Regions from separate parts of the Homo sapiens genome. Here region 2 is linked to region 1. Evidence: promoter capture Hi-C in 16 types of primary human blood cells and fetal thymus (Javierre and others, 2016). All regions are on one chromosome and are shown on one strand. Each heading gives the region's core, a stretch centred on a gene start or on the middle of the fragment in contact. The rest is flanking DNA. Distances are from core to core; before and after follow the strand shown.

What was found. Contacts are between HindIII fragments. The CHiCAGO score rates a contact against its expected background, and 5 or more counts as called.
Region 2: a fragment that was not itself captured here is called in contact with the fragment with the promoter of IL1B in region 1 in 1 of 17 cell types (monocytes); the score reaches 5.9 in monocytes.

What each region holds. Positions count from the first base shown.
Region 1 is chr2:112,833,031-112,839,701 of GRCh38, forward strand. It overlaps IL1B (interleukin 1 beta), which reads right to left and starts at 3,749. Exons shown (of 7, transcript NM_000576.3): 1 at 3,678-3,749; 2 at 3,153-3,214; 3 at 2,536-2,587; 4 at 344-545. The coding sequence starts at 3,199. The HindIII fragment of the contact is 1,771 bases long and covers 2,106-3,876 here.
Region 2 is chr2:111,997,787-112,004,644 of GRCh38, forward strand. It overlaps MERTK (MER proto-oncogene, tyrosine kinase), which reads left to right. Exons shown (of 19, transcript NM_006343.3): 11 at 3,415-3,500; 12 at 5,306-5,401; 13 at 6,118-6,198. Among named protein-coding and RNA genes, the nearest start is that of TMEM87B, 54 kb to the right of the region's middle. The HindIII fragment of the contact is 954 bases long and covers 3,296-4,249 here.

The sequences.
Region 1 (6,671 bases), core at 2,499-4,998:
TATTACTGCTCACTGTGGCCGAGCAACAGAGCTACTTAGGTAAAATGGTGATGGTCATAACACTAGCCCACAGGGAGGTTACGAACCTCTGGTGACAATGTAAGTGAAAGGCCCCTGAGAAAGAGTGAGGGAGTTGCAAATGTCAGTAGCCATCAAGATCTTCTTTAAGAATAGTTTCCACTAAAGAGATGATTGCTTTGGTTTCCAGCCTTCTTTGTTTTGTCTCCCCGCTGGGCCTTCTACCTTTAAAGGGCTTTGGCTCTGGGGGAATTGAGTTGGCTGGGGCTTGATGACTTCCAAGAGGACACAAGTGGAGATCTACTGCCTGCTCTTGGCTAACTACCTTCTTCAAAGATGAAGGGAAAGAAGGTGCTCAGGTCATTCTCCTGGAAGGTCTGTGGGCAGGGAACCAGCATCTTCCTCAGCTTGTCCATGGCCACAACAACTGACGCGGCCTGCCTGAAGCCCTTGCTGTAGTGGTGGTCGGAGATTCGTAGCTGGATGCCGCCATCCAGAGGGCAGAGGTCCAGGTCCTGGAAGGAGCACTGCGGAGAGAGCGAGGGAGGGAGCCTGGTGAGGTGGTCCTGCCAGGAACCATGCTTTGACATCAGAGAGTAGAAAGCTCAGAGAGGAGGAAAGGGCTTGAAAGAATCCCGAGCTTCTAAAGATCATCCCTCTCTGGGCCAGGCGTGGTGGCTCATGCCTGTAATCCCAGCACTTTGGGAAGCCGAGGTGGATGAATCATTTAGGTCAGGACTTCAAAACCAGCCTGGCCAACATGGCGAAACCCCTTCTCTACTAAAAATACAAAAATTAGCTGGGTGTGGTGGGGTGCACCTGTAATCCTAGCTATTCAGGAGACTGAGGAAGGAGAATCGCTTGAACTCAGGAGGTGGAGGATGCAGTAAGCCAAGATTGTACCACTGCACTCCAGCCTGGGCAACAGAGTGAGACTCTGTCTCATAAAACAAAACAAAACAAAACAAAACAAAATAAAATAAAATAAAATAAAAAGATTATCCCTCTCTGAAGCTCAAGGAGGTTAAGTGTGTACTCAAGGGCACACAGCAGGTTAGAGGCAGACTCAAGACTAGAATGTGGGCTTTCTGACACCTTACAGGCTATTCTTTTAGAATAAATCCCATTTCTACTTTGTTCATCTTTTTTGTACATGCCCCACCTACACCATACATGTATACCTTCTCTATATCTTTTTGTATCCCTAATGCTGTCACACTATGATTTGCTTTTTCATGCAGATGACCATAACATTTTCCATTCACCTATGCTCACTCAGCAAGTATTCAATTTTTCTACACTGTTCTTTTTTTTCCTTTTTCATAACACTGTCTCATAGGCATTCTGCAAATCCTGTGAGAGTACTTTTTGTGAAATGTTACCACTTTCCTCTTATTCAGAGAAGCTCCGTATTAAGGCTTCACTGAGGTTGCCTTAAGGCATGATAATGGTTCAAAGGCTTGAAAGACAGTTAAAGAGACCTGTAAGTGCACAAAAGAAAGTTGAGCAGGAGAGAATTTCCTGCCTGGAGCAGAGCCAAGCTGCTGGAAGAGGCAATGGGGGCAAAGGCCAGGCAGACAAGCCAATGGGCTCCTCCCACAGCTGCAGCCAACAAGTTATGCCAGTCTTAAAACTTCTAAAGAAATATGTTTTTAACAAGATTGAGGACTGGATTATGAGGCTAGGGGAGGCTATCACAAACTGGAATAAAATAAAGCCAGAGAAAAGTGGCTGCCTCCCAACCTGCACAACTGACCTAGCTAGGCTGATGGCTGGGCCACCTAGGAAGGCTACTGAGCATCATATAAAACAGAAGGGACAGCAGGAATATAACATGGCTCTTTGTAAGGATGAGTCTGAAAAATGACCATTTGCTGCCCAAATGCCCTTAGCTACAACTGAAAATATTTCAGAACTGGAGGTTGCAGGATGCTGGAATCTCAGAGATCATCCAGCTCAGCCCTTTATTTTTCAGATGAGGTCCAAAGCGGGTAAAATGACTTGTCAAGGTCAAACAGCAAGTGAATGGTTTTCTTTCAAGTCTCAATTCATCTTTTTGTTTATATCATCTATGTCTTGTTGTTATAAGCTTCACCCCAGGTAGCAAAAAACTATTCTACTCAAAAGGGGTAGACATATGTTAGTTCTCAAGATCATCTCTTGGTTTCAGAGTTTAACTCAAGTGATTGGCATAGGCTGAATCCATCTCTTAAAAGGATAATCAAATTTATGTTGAAGACTTGGTTGTCTTCCTACTATGAAATGGGAAACATTATCACTACTCCTCCCCTGTCACCACCAAGTGTGGCCACCACCACCAACGTTAGTGAGTGACTGTGGTGATATGATGACCAAGTGGCCAGGTCAGCAAGTGGTGCAGCCTGTGTCTCACTGGAAGAGGTTAAAGTCTTTCTAAAACAAAATACCATGGCATCAAAGTGGCCCAGAACTCCCTTCTTTGAGCTTTCCCTGTGTTAGAGCCCTTCCTTGGGTTGGGAGTTAAACCCATAGTCTTACCTTCATCTGTTTAGGGCCATCAGCTTCAAAGAACAAGTCATCCTCATTGCCACTGTAATAAAAACAGGGACATGTCTCAATTATGTCTTCTAAACAGGTTTATTTTTCCTTCCCTGTGTACAAGACTTGACTGTTCATAAGAAACTGCAAACAGCCTGCCTCTCAAAGCTGCCTGAAACACCTGGCAAGTTTCACAGTGATATGCGCAGAACAGTCCAGAAGGCAGATTCTAGGCCTGGCAGGTGGGCACCCTGGGTGCTCCCTGTTGGATCTTGAGGCCTAACCTCTAGCCCAGCAGAGTCAGCTAAAATCTGAGCTCTCCCTCTCCCTCCAAGCCACACTTTGCAAAGGGATTCCTTGTATTGTGGGCTTGGAGTCTTTTCTCCCCATTTGCCTCTGCAGGAAGCCCTTGCAACAACACATCTGGATAGCCTCCAGGTCCCAAGGCTGGAGGGACTTGTAATGGGAAAGTAGTCTTTAAATCAGATTTACTTGGCACCCTGTTTGCCACTGAAAGAGGCAATTTAGGGGAAAAATCTGGTCTCCAAGCACAGATAACACTCTACTCTTGAAAGAGGAGACCTGCTCATGTTACTGGTCTCAGCGTCTCCACTGACCTGTAATAAGCCATCATTTCACTGGCGAGCTCAGGTACTTCTGCCATGGCTGCTTCAGACACCTGTGTAAAAAGGAGAAAATGAGTGACTTCCCCATGACGGCTACGTTCATGTGTGATTTCTCTCAGCATCCAGTGCATGGCAGTCATGCAAAGAAATGATCTCTGAGTAAATGAATGAATGTGTGAAAGAGAAGTCCTTTGGGTCTAGAGAAAAGCATTTGCTAAACCAAACCCCAACTAGCAATGTATTGGCTAGGAGAGCTGGAGCAGAGGCTTTGACACTAACCTTTAGGGTGTCAGCTGTTAGATAAGCAGTATCCATTCCCAGAATATTTCCCGAGTCATAAGCATTATATTACACCTGGCATTTTTGCAAAAAGCTGAGAGAGGGAGGCAGAGAGGGAAGGAGAGGGAGAGACAGAGAAAGAAAGAGAGAGAGAGAGAGAATATGCATACACACAAAGAGGCAGAGAGACAGAGAGACTCCCTTAGCACCTAGTTGTAAGGAAGATTAAAGTCATACTTGAGCAATGAAGATTGGCTGAAGAGAATCCCAGAGCAGCCTGTTGTGCCTTGTGCCTCGAAGAGGTTTGGTATCTGCCAGTTTCTCCCTCGCTGTTTTTATGGCTTTCAAAAGCAGAAGTAGGAGGCTGAGAAATTTCTCTGTTGAATACCTGATTTCACAATCAAGTTAAAGGAAAGGGGAAAAGAGTATTGGTGGAAGCTTCTTAGGGGAGGGGACTAATAAACTGAGATAATTCTCTGGTTCATGGAAGGGCAAGGAGTAGCAAACTATGACACATTTTGCAAATGTATCACCATGCAAATATGCATTGTTTTCCTGACAATCGTTGTGCAGTTGATGTCCACATTAAAATACTGGATTTTCCCACGTTAGAAGAATGTTTAAATTTAGTATATGTGGGACAAAGTGGAAGACACACAGATTTATACATGCACATACTTTTCTTCATTCACTTCTTTGTACTTAAGTTTAGGAATCTTCCCACTTACAGATGGATAAATGGGTACAATGAAGGGCCAATAGCCCTCCCTGTCTGTATTGAGGGTGTGGGTCTCTACCTTGGGTGCTGTTCTCTGCCTCAGGAGCTCTCTGTCAATTGCAGGAGCCTCTGAGGAGAAAATTGACCTTTCTTGGCTGGGGCAGAGAACATACGGTATGCAGGGTTCAGGCTCCTGACGGAGTTGGGGCAACCCTGGAGATAAGCTCACACAACCCTGCAAGACCAGGTGCTGTTACCCTAGCCAATCTCATGGATGAACCAGATCAATGCCAGATGAGCTCTGCCTAAAATGATTTTTTGGTGAACTCTGAAAAGTGGAATATTGTTTCTGTAAGAATATCCATCTGAGACTCTATCTCTTGGTAATACCAACCAAGAGTTATCAGTTTCTCTTTAACCGAGACACCAGCAAAGTGCCTGCTCCAGGGTACTGCCCAGGGGAGCCCTCCATTTGTAGAATGAATGAGAGTCCAGGTTATGAACAGTGCCTGGAGTGTAGGAACACCCTCCTTTGCCTCTTTGACAGGTCTGCATCATAACACTTTTTTTTTTTTTTTGAGACAGAGTCTCACTCTGTCGCCCAGGCTGGAGTGCAGTGGCACGATCTCGGCCCCCTGCAAGTTCCGCCTCCCGGGTTCACACCATTCTCCTGCCTCAGCCTCCCCAGCAGCTGGGACTACAGGCACCTGCCGCCACGCCCGGCTAATTTTTTGTATTTTTAGTAGAGACAGGGTTTCACCATGTTAGCCAGGATGGTCTCGATCTCCTGACCTTGTGATCTGCCCGCCTCGGCCTCCCAAAGTGTTGGGATTACAGGCGTGAGCCACCGTGTCCAGCCTGTAACACTTCTTATAGCACTGAGTTGAAACCTTGCTCCTCCTGGTTCCTCCAGGAAACTGAAATCTTTTTGAGCCAAGTCTAGCACAGTGCCTGGCATGTACATTCAGGTGGTAGAGTTTGCTGCTTGAATGGGTGAATGGGAATTTGACAGCATTTTTATTCAAATTAGTATGTGCCAGGTATCGTGCTCGCTCTGCATTATCCAAGGGAGTGAGCCTCTGTGCAAGTATTTGAGACACGAGGGAAATAGGTTCTACTGTGGGAAAAAGAGCATTTCATGGACTTGCTCTCCAAGCAGCCTTCTGATTTTTAATTTGGCTCCCAGTATCTTGATATCAGGAGTCAGTCACAAGAACTCCATCTTTAGTAAGTTATATTTTCCACAGGAAATCTAAAAGCTGTTCAACATGTTAGTTTCCTGTGAATTTGATAAGCCATAATCCATTCCTAACACTGAGCCCTCCTGAAATTTGGTGTCTGGTCCTGCAGATAGCTAAAAGCCCTGTCTGGGTGGCCTAGGGGACTCCTCTGTTTTGCCTCCACAGGATCCACTTTGCAAATTAACCACTGGTTCTCCCGTTGTAGGAACTGCCACCTTCCTCAGAGCCTGTCTTTCTTCCTTCCTTCCTTCCTTCCTCTTTCTTTTTCTTTCTCTCTCTCTTTCTTTCTTTTCTTTTCTTTCTTTCTTTCTTTCTTTCTTTCTTTCTTTCTTTCTTTCTTCCTTTCTTTCTCTTTCTCTCTTTCTCTCTTTCTCTTTCTTTCTTTCTTTCTCTCTCCCTCCCTCCCTCTCTCTCTTTCTTTCTTTTTCTTTCTTTTCTCTTTTCTTTCTCTCTTTCTTTCTCCCTCCCTCTCTCTCTTTTTCTTTGTCTCTCCCTCCCTTCTCTCTCTCTTTCTCTTTCTCTCTCTCTCTCTCCTAGACAGGATCTACCTTTATCCCCCAGGCTGGAGTGCAGTGGTACAATCATGCATTCATTGCATGATCACAGCAGCCTCAAACCCTTCCTCAGAGTCTTTATGCGGCAACCAGCAGGGTCTGGAGGGTTGGTGGCTCTGTGAACTCTCCTGACAGAACACAGAGATGTCTTTGGTCTGTTGATGTGATTACAAGCTGAACGAAGGAGGATCAAAGCCAGTGACAGGAAGGGAGATATGCAAGGGACCCGAGCATCAGCTCTGAGTTAGTCCATTCTGCTTCTGGGACTTGGGATACAGGTCAGAAACCTTGAGCTTCTACTTCTCCATCTTCCAATTGTAGCATCCAGGACCTCAGAATCTGCCAGCTAAGAGGAGCCCTAATGATTGTCTGGTGGGATATGGTGGGACCACAGAGATGAAGACATGAATAGCTATTTGAATGTGAACAGCAGACGAAGAAATCAAGGCTAGGAGGGTGGAAGTGACTCATCCAATAGCACAGTGTGGTTGAAGCAGCACTAGTATCCAGGTTGCATGAGCCCCTGATGCTTTCGCTCGAGGGAAATTTTGGAGCCATGGGGCAATGCCCCCTGACGTAACAGTCTCCACAGTTCTGCCATGTCTCATCCTGGCCCTGTAACCTGGACCCAAATCTGCTACCATCCCATCCATCTCAGGAAGTGAAACCTCTTATGTCAAATAGGTTGTGCAACGTATGTATCAGATCCTGTCTTCCC
Region 2 (6,858 bases), core at 2,523-5,022, 840 kb before region 1:
CACACCTGTAATCCCAGCACTTTGGGAGGCCAAGGCAGGCGGATCACTTGAGGTCAGGAGTTTGAGACCAGCCTGGCCACCATGGCAAAATGTCATCTCTACAGAAAATACAAAAATTAGCTGGGCATGATGGCACACGCCTGTAATCCCAGCTACTTTAGAGGCTGAGGCACAGGAATTGCTTGAACCCAGGAGGGTTGTTGGCAGGTTGGAGTGGGACAGAATGAGTGAGGGGTGTATGGCTATACTTTGGAGGGGGCTGAGCCTCCCTCTTTCATTGCTCCACCTTCAGAATGCTACTAGAACATCCCACTCGCTCCAAGACTTGCCATAGGCGTGGGAAGGGCTTAAGATTGGCAGCCAGGCTACGCTTTATTTGTGTTCATCCCAGTCTTAGGGGTCAGTTACTTTAGTCTTTATAAGCCTATTCTTACAATTGTTATACCTTAGTATGTGAATTCTAAGAATGACTATTTTAAAGAAGTGGACAAAATCTGATCTAAATCTTGAACATATAATTGACTAAAATACATCCCAGGATCTTGGTGTGACATGTGGGTTCATCATAAAACAAGTACAGAGAACCTCTGCAGAAGCTGCAAGAGTAGCTCATTAATATGTATTAAAGGCCTGCTAGGCACTGGGCACTGCGGTAGCCTGGAATACAGTGGTGAACAAAATCCTGCCCTCATGGGGTTCACAGTTCATGGGGAGTCAGGCAGTAGTCAAGCAGTCACAAAATAGATTAAAAATGGCAACTGTAATACATTCTATATAAAGGGGTAAGAATGTGTCAGAAAAATTTGGCTGCATTAAGAAAGTCAGGGAAGGCCTTTGTGCAGAAGTGGCTGACACCAGAGCTAAGATCTGAAGAAAGAGCAGGTATTCATTAGATGAGAGAGAAGAAGAGCATTACAGCCAGAAGGAGCAGCACATGCCACATTACCAAAAAGTGGGGCTGCTGAGTACAGCAAATATATTAACAAGATTACAATACTATTTCAAATATTTAGAAATAAAACTATTTCCAGGAACCATTAAACTCAGCAGAAGCTTAAAACAAATGAAAGACTTGTAACAGGTTATTGTTATCTATGTCGAAGTCAGTTCCCATGGATCCTTACTACAAGATCTATTCATTTGTTCCTTTTGTAAAACCACTTTCCAGCTCATTTTTAAATGAAAATACTTTTATTTTTACTTATAAAAGTAACATTATATTTTTTTAAAAATCAGATTATATCGAATAGTCAAAAGGAGAAAGTGAGGCCCATTTCAGGCCCATAGATGGTGTTGGTTGCTATTTTGGCATACGTCTTTCCAAGTGCTTTGCTTTGTGTACATCAGTATTTTTTTCAAAATTGTGTTATCTCTTTAAAATAATCTATGTACCTAAGGTAACTTGAGATTAAATCTGTAATCTAGACTTTCAAATTCATAATACTTTCCCACCAATTAGTCTAAAACAGTGACTAAATGGATTATTAAAATAGACTTCATTTTTTATTTTTAAAATTAATTTATTTTTTTGAGACAGGATCTTGCTCTGTCGTCCAGGCTGGAGTGCAGTGGTGCATTCATGGCTCACTGCAGCCTTGTCCTCCAGAACCCAAGTGATCCTCCCATCTCAGCCTCCCGATTAGCTGGGACCACAGTCACATACCACCATGTCTGGCTAATTTTCTTACTTTTTATAGAGATGAGGCATCTCACTTTGTTTCCCTCGCTGGTCTTGAACTCCTGGGCTCAAGTGATCCTCCTGCCTCAGCTTCCCAAAGTGCTGGGATTACAGGCATGAATCCCAGCCTTATTTTTTAGAACAGTTTTAATTTTACAGAAACATTGAGAAGATAGTACAGAGATTTCTCATATGCTCCATACCTAGTTTCCCCTATTATTAACAGCTTACATTATTAGTGTCACACGTGTCCATGTGAAGAGACCACCAACAGGTTTTGTGTGAGCAGTAAAGCTTTTTAATCACCCGGGTGCAGGTGGGCTGAGTCCGAAAAAGGAGTCAGCAAAGGATGGTGGAATTATCATTAGTTCTTACAGGTTTGGTATAGGCAGTGGAGTTATCCAATATCCAATATCCACTGGAGGACCAATTTTTTGTAAGCAGGGGGTGGATCTTGCAAAGTACATTCTCAAGGGCCCGGGAGAATATTACAAAGTACCTTCTCAAGGGTAGGGAGGGTGTATCATACAAAGTACATTCGCAAGGGTGGGGGAATACCACAAAGTACATTATCCCAAGGGCAGGGAGGGTGTATTGTCACAAAGTCAATTGATCAGTTAGGGTGGGGCAGGAACAAATCACAATGGTGGAATGTCATCAGGTAAGGCAGGAACTGGCTATTTTCACTTCTTTTGTGGATCTTCGGTTGCTTCAGGCCATCTGGGTGTATACGTGCAGGTCACAGGGGATATGATGGCTTAGCTTGGGCTCAGGGTCCTGACAATTAGTACAATACATTTGTTACAGTTAATGAGCCAATATTGATCCATTGTCATTAACTAACATCTCTACTTTCTTGAGATTTCCTTAATTTTCACCTAATGTCCCTTTAGTGTTCTGGGATCCCTTCCAGGATGCCACATTTTACAGTCAGTCATCACATCTCCTTAGGCTCCTCTTGGCTGTGGCCATTTCTTAGACCTTCCTTGTCTTTGATGATCTTGCCAGTTTTCAGAAGTGTTAGTCGGGTGTTTTGTAGGATGCCCCTCTATTGCAATGTGTTCGATGTTTTGCTGATAATGAGCAGGGGTTATGGGTGATTGAGAGGAGGAGCACAGAATTAAAATGCCATTGTCATCACTTCTTATCAAGGGTGCATATTAACATGATGTATCACTGTTGATGTTGACATTGATCACCTGGCTGAAGTAGTATTTGCTGGGTTTCTCTACCATGAAGTTATTTTTTCTCCCTTTCCCTACTGTTCTTTGGAAGCAAGTCACTATGCATAGCCCATATTGACAGCATGAGGGTTTAACTCCCTCCACCCCTTACTAGCTACATAAAATATTTGGAATTCTTCACCACAGGAGATTGGTGTCTTTTCTTCCATTCATTCATTCAATCATATTTTCATAAGTATAGACTTATGGATATTCATTTTATACTCATAGTCTAGTATTACTTTAGTTTCTTGCTCAGACTGTTACAGCTTTGGCCACTGGGAGCTTATCTGTTATTCTCTGTTCTTGGCGGTACCTGGCTAGAGTAGTTTCAATATTGCCAAGTAAGTCTAAAATAAATCAAAGGAAAGAAACACGTTTCTTCTAGGGGGAAAGCTTTTGTTGTAGAAGAGCCCATTGAAAAGCGGAAGCTCTGTAGCATCCTTGTGGAATCAGTGCCTGCCCCAGTAGCCCTGTTTTTATAGTGAAGTATCTTTGTTTTCATTCACCCAGGAATGCATTCACAGAGGAGGATTCTGAATTAGTGGTGAATTATATAGCAAAGAAATCCTTCTGTCGGCGAGCCATTGAACTTACCTGTAAGTTGACTTTCATTTCCCTTTTTGGCAAAAGTTAAAATAGTTGAGAACAAAGAAGGATCAATAGACAGATTTCTAACAAAAGCCAAAGATGTCGAAGAAGAATGGATATTTTTAATGTACAAAATGTCTTTAAAAGCAGCAAGTAGATAGCCAGACATTGCCATGCACAGCTCTGTGGGCTAATTTACTGCAATCAGGAGCTTGACCTGGGGTTAAAAGGACTCACAATGTCATGAAATGTGGCAGAAAAGAGGAACCTTCTAGGGTGACAGAAGATGGGTAGAGGCCAGGGATTTAAAGAAAACTTCTAACTAGTGAACATAATCTCAAGCCTCATTTCCTGTTTTCCTGGCAACCAACTCCGAGGATGATTTGCCAACATGCTTTATAGTAATTATGGTTTGAGCTTTGCTGAATCAGAGAGTGGGGGCTTCTGGTTTAAACAGCGGAAATAAACAGACACTAGTGTTCCTGAATAATTTCAGAAAAAGTATAGAAAGGACATGCAAATATTAACAAATTCATGCTTCTGGATGTTTGCCCCCAATAAAGAAAATAGATAAGAATGACAGAATACAGGTTGCTATGAAATAGAAACTTGCTTGGTGTAGAATATTATTAATTTCTTTACCTTTCTAGTCTGTAAGTTTTGACTTTTAGATATCCTCAATTTTTTTTTTAATTTAAAATTTTAAAATTTGTCATTTAGACCACTTTCTTTCCTTTATTGGAGAACCACTGGATAAAGCTTTTTCTCTGAGAACTAATGTGTCCTAATTATCCACATTTTTTTGATCTTTCAAGAGCTTGTTCATGCCTTAACTGTGGTCCAGACTGAATCATTTGCCAAGAGTTGTTGAACTGGTCCCCTTCTGGTTAATTTCTCTTGTTGCCAACATGACTCATCTATTATATACCTTACTATATTATATATTTTATTATAGAAAAATCTTTTTCTCCAATTCCTCAAAGTGCTCAATTTAGCCCTTGCTATGCTGTTATAATAGGTTTCATATACAGTATGTAAAATAAGAGCTTATTCTCTAGATGTTTCCTGTGGTTTGTGAGACTCCGTCCATGGCATGGGAGGGTAGGGGACGTGTGGTTCTTTTGTATACTGTAGTCAAGGGTATAATATTAATAGTAAAGAATTCACCAGAAATTACCTATTGACTTATCTTCCTTACCCCTTTAAGTCAAAGGCAAACCACCCCTACATGAATCTGATTACCGGCTGCTGCTACCACACAACAGAATGAGAAATGTGGTTCTGATTTTTGTAATTCTTCAGAATTAACCTTGCCCTGAAGGATTCATTATACTTAGTTTAATCATTCTAAAGTATGAAATTTTATTACTGGCATTTTTGGGAGAGAAATAATAGATACAAAATGAAAAAAGGGGCCGGCTATGGTGGTTCACACCTGTAATCCCAGCACTTTGGGAGGCCGAGGTGGGTAGATCACTTGAGGTCAGGAGTTCGAGACCAGCCTGGCCCAGATGATAAAACCCGTCTCTACTGAAAATACATAAATTAGCTGGGTGTGGTGGTGCATGCCTGCAGTCCCAGCTACTTGGGAGGCTGAGGCACAAGAATCGCTTGAACCCAGGAGGCAGAGGTTGCAGTGAGCCAAGGTTGCACCATTGCACTCCAGCCTGGGCAACAGAGCTAGACTCTGGCTCAATAAATAAATAAATAAATAAGGAATGTTTTATTATACAGGACTTTATTTCATTTTAATTATCAAGTGAAAGAAAACACGCTGACAATTTTTGTACATACTATGTTACTCCTTTTTCAGTACATAGCTTGGGAGTCAGTGAGGAACTACAAAATAAACTAGAAGATGTTGTGATTGACAGGAATCTTCTAATTCTTGGAAAAATTCTGGGTGAAGGTAAGCAATTTAAAGTAATTCTTTTAAAATGTGGGATAAGAAGGTAGCAGTTTAGAATAATTCTTTAACATATATTTATTAAATAAAATAGCATCTCAGGACTCTGAGTTATACTATGGATAGTTATATTTTATTATTTAAAATGATAGACTATTGATTTTTGAAACTCAGATCTGGCACATGAAAAGATTCTCTTCAATGCCTAGCACATACAGGTCCTTGAAAAATATTAATTTTCTTTCTTCATTGAAAAGCATGTAATTCATTGAGTAGTTTCCTATGTACTTTAAGTTTATTCCTCTAGTTCTTAAGTTCATTGTTCTTGGCACCTTTCTAATTAGGAACAAAAATGAAAATACGTATTTAACTTGTTAAGTTGTTCTTAGGATGAATGATAATGGTATTAAAAGTTTGTGCTTTAAAAACTTCAATAATATTTTTCATGTTCTCTTCTAAGTGTCTTGGATTGGTTATAATGCTTAATAAAGTGATGAGCAAAGGTAGGCCCAAGCCACCCAAGCTCGTGACAAGCAGGAGACTAGAGCGTGGCGCATCACCCTGGTTTGCGATGTGGGTGGCCTGGGCAGGCTCTGCCTGGCTGCCCGTGGGTGAGTTGCTCTCATACCACATGAAACCAGCAGCTCTGGCACTGTAGCATTTCTGTGGTCAGGGAAGAGTTTGCACAGTGTCCATACAGGTGTTCTTTCACTTCACAGGAGAGTTTGGGTCTGTAATGGAAGGAAATCTTAAGCAGGAAGATGGGACCTCTCTGAAAGTGGCAGTGAAGACCATGAAGTGTGAGTTATCAGTGATGAATCCCATTCTTCTAGGGTGGGCAGTTGCTTCAGTATTGGGTGCTCCATGAGGCCATATGTCACAATCTCAGTTCCCAGTGGGCCAGAAGGCAATGTGGAACACTGGTCACCAAGGGGGACTTACTTTAATGAGCTCTTCATGCATGCATTACATATTCTTTATACTCAAGGCAATAACATTTTTTATTTTTACTAACTCCTGCATGCCTATGCATACATACTGTCTGTCTTGCTCTCTCTCCTTCTCTCACTGTCTCTCTTTCTCTCACTCTCATCTAGTAGAGCTAACAACTCCAAAGTAGAGCATCAATTGCTGAGGCAGGGGTGATCTAATAGCAACATCTGACCCCAGGGGTTGTTCTGGCCGGCCTGTCTAGTGTGGTGGGGCCACTTCCTCATTTGAGGATGATTGCATGGCCCTGAGGAAGCTGCGGGCTGCCTGGCAAGTAAGTTCCCCAGAAAGAGGAGAAATATTTGGTCAAGGCATATGAAGAGTTGCTATCATAAGCTAGAACTTCCAAGCAAGCTGGGAAGAGAGCCAGCAGTGAGACAGGGAGAGTCTTGTAAGTCACAGCCAAGAACCTGCTTTATCCTGCAAGGAGTAGAGCGCTATTAAGAGGCTTAACCAGCCGGGCACGGTGG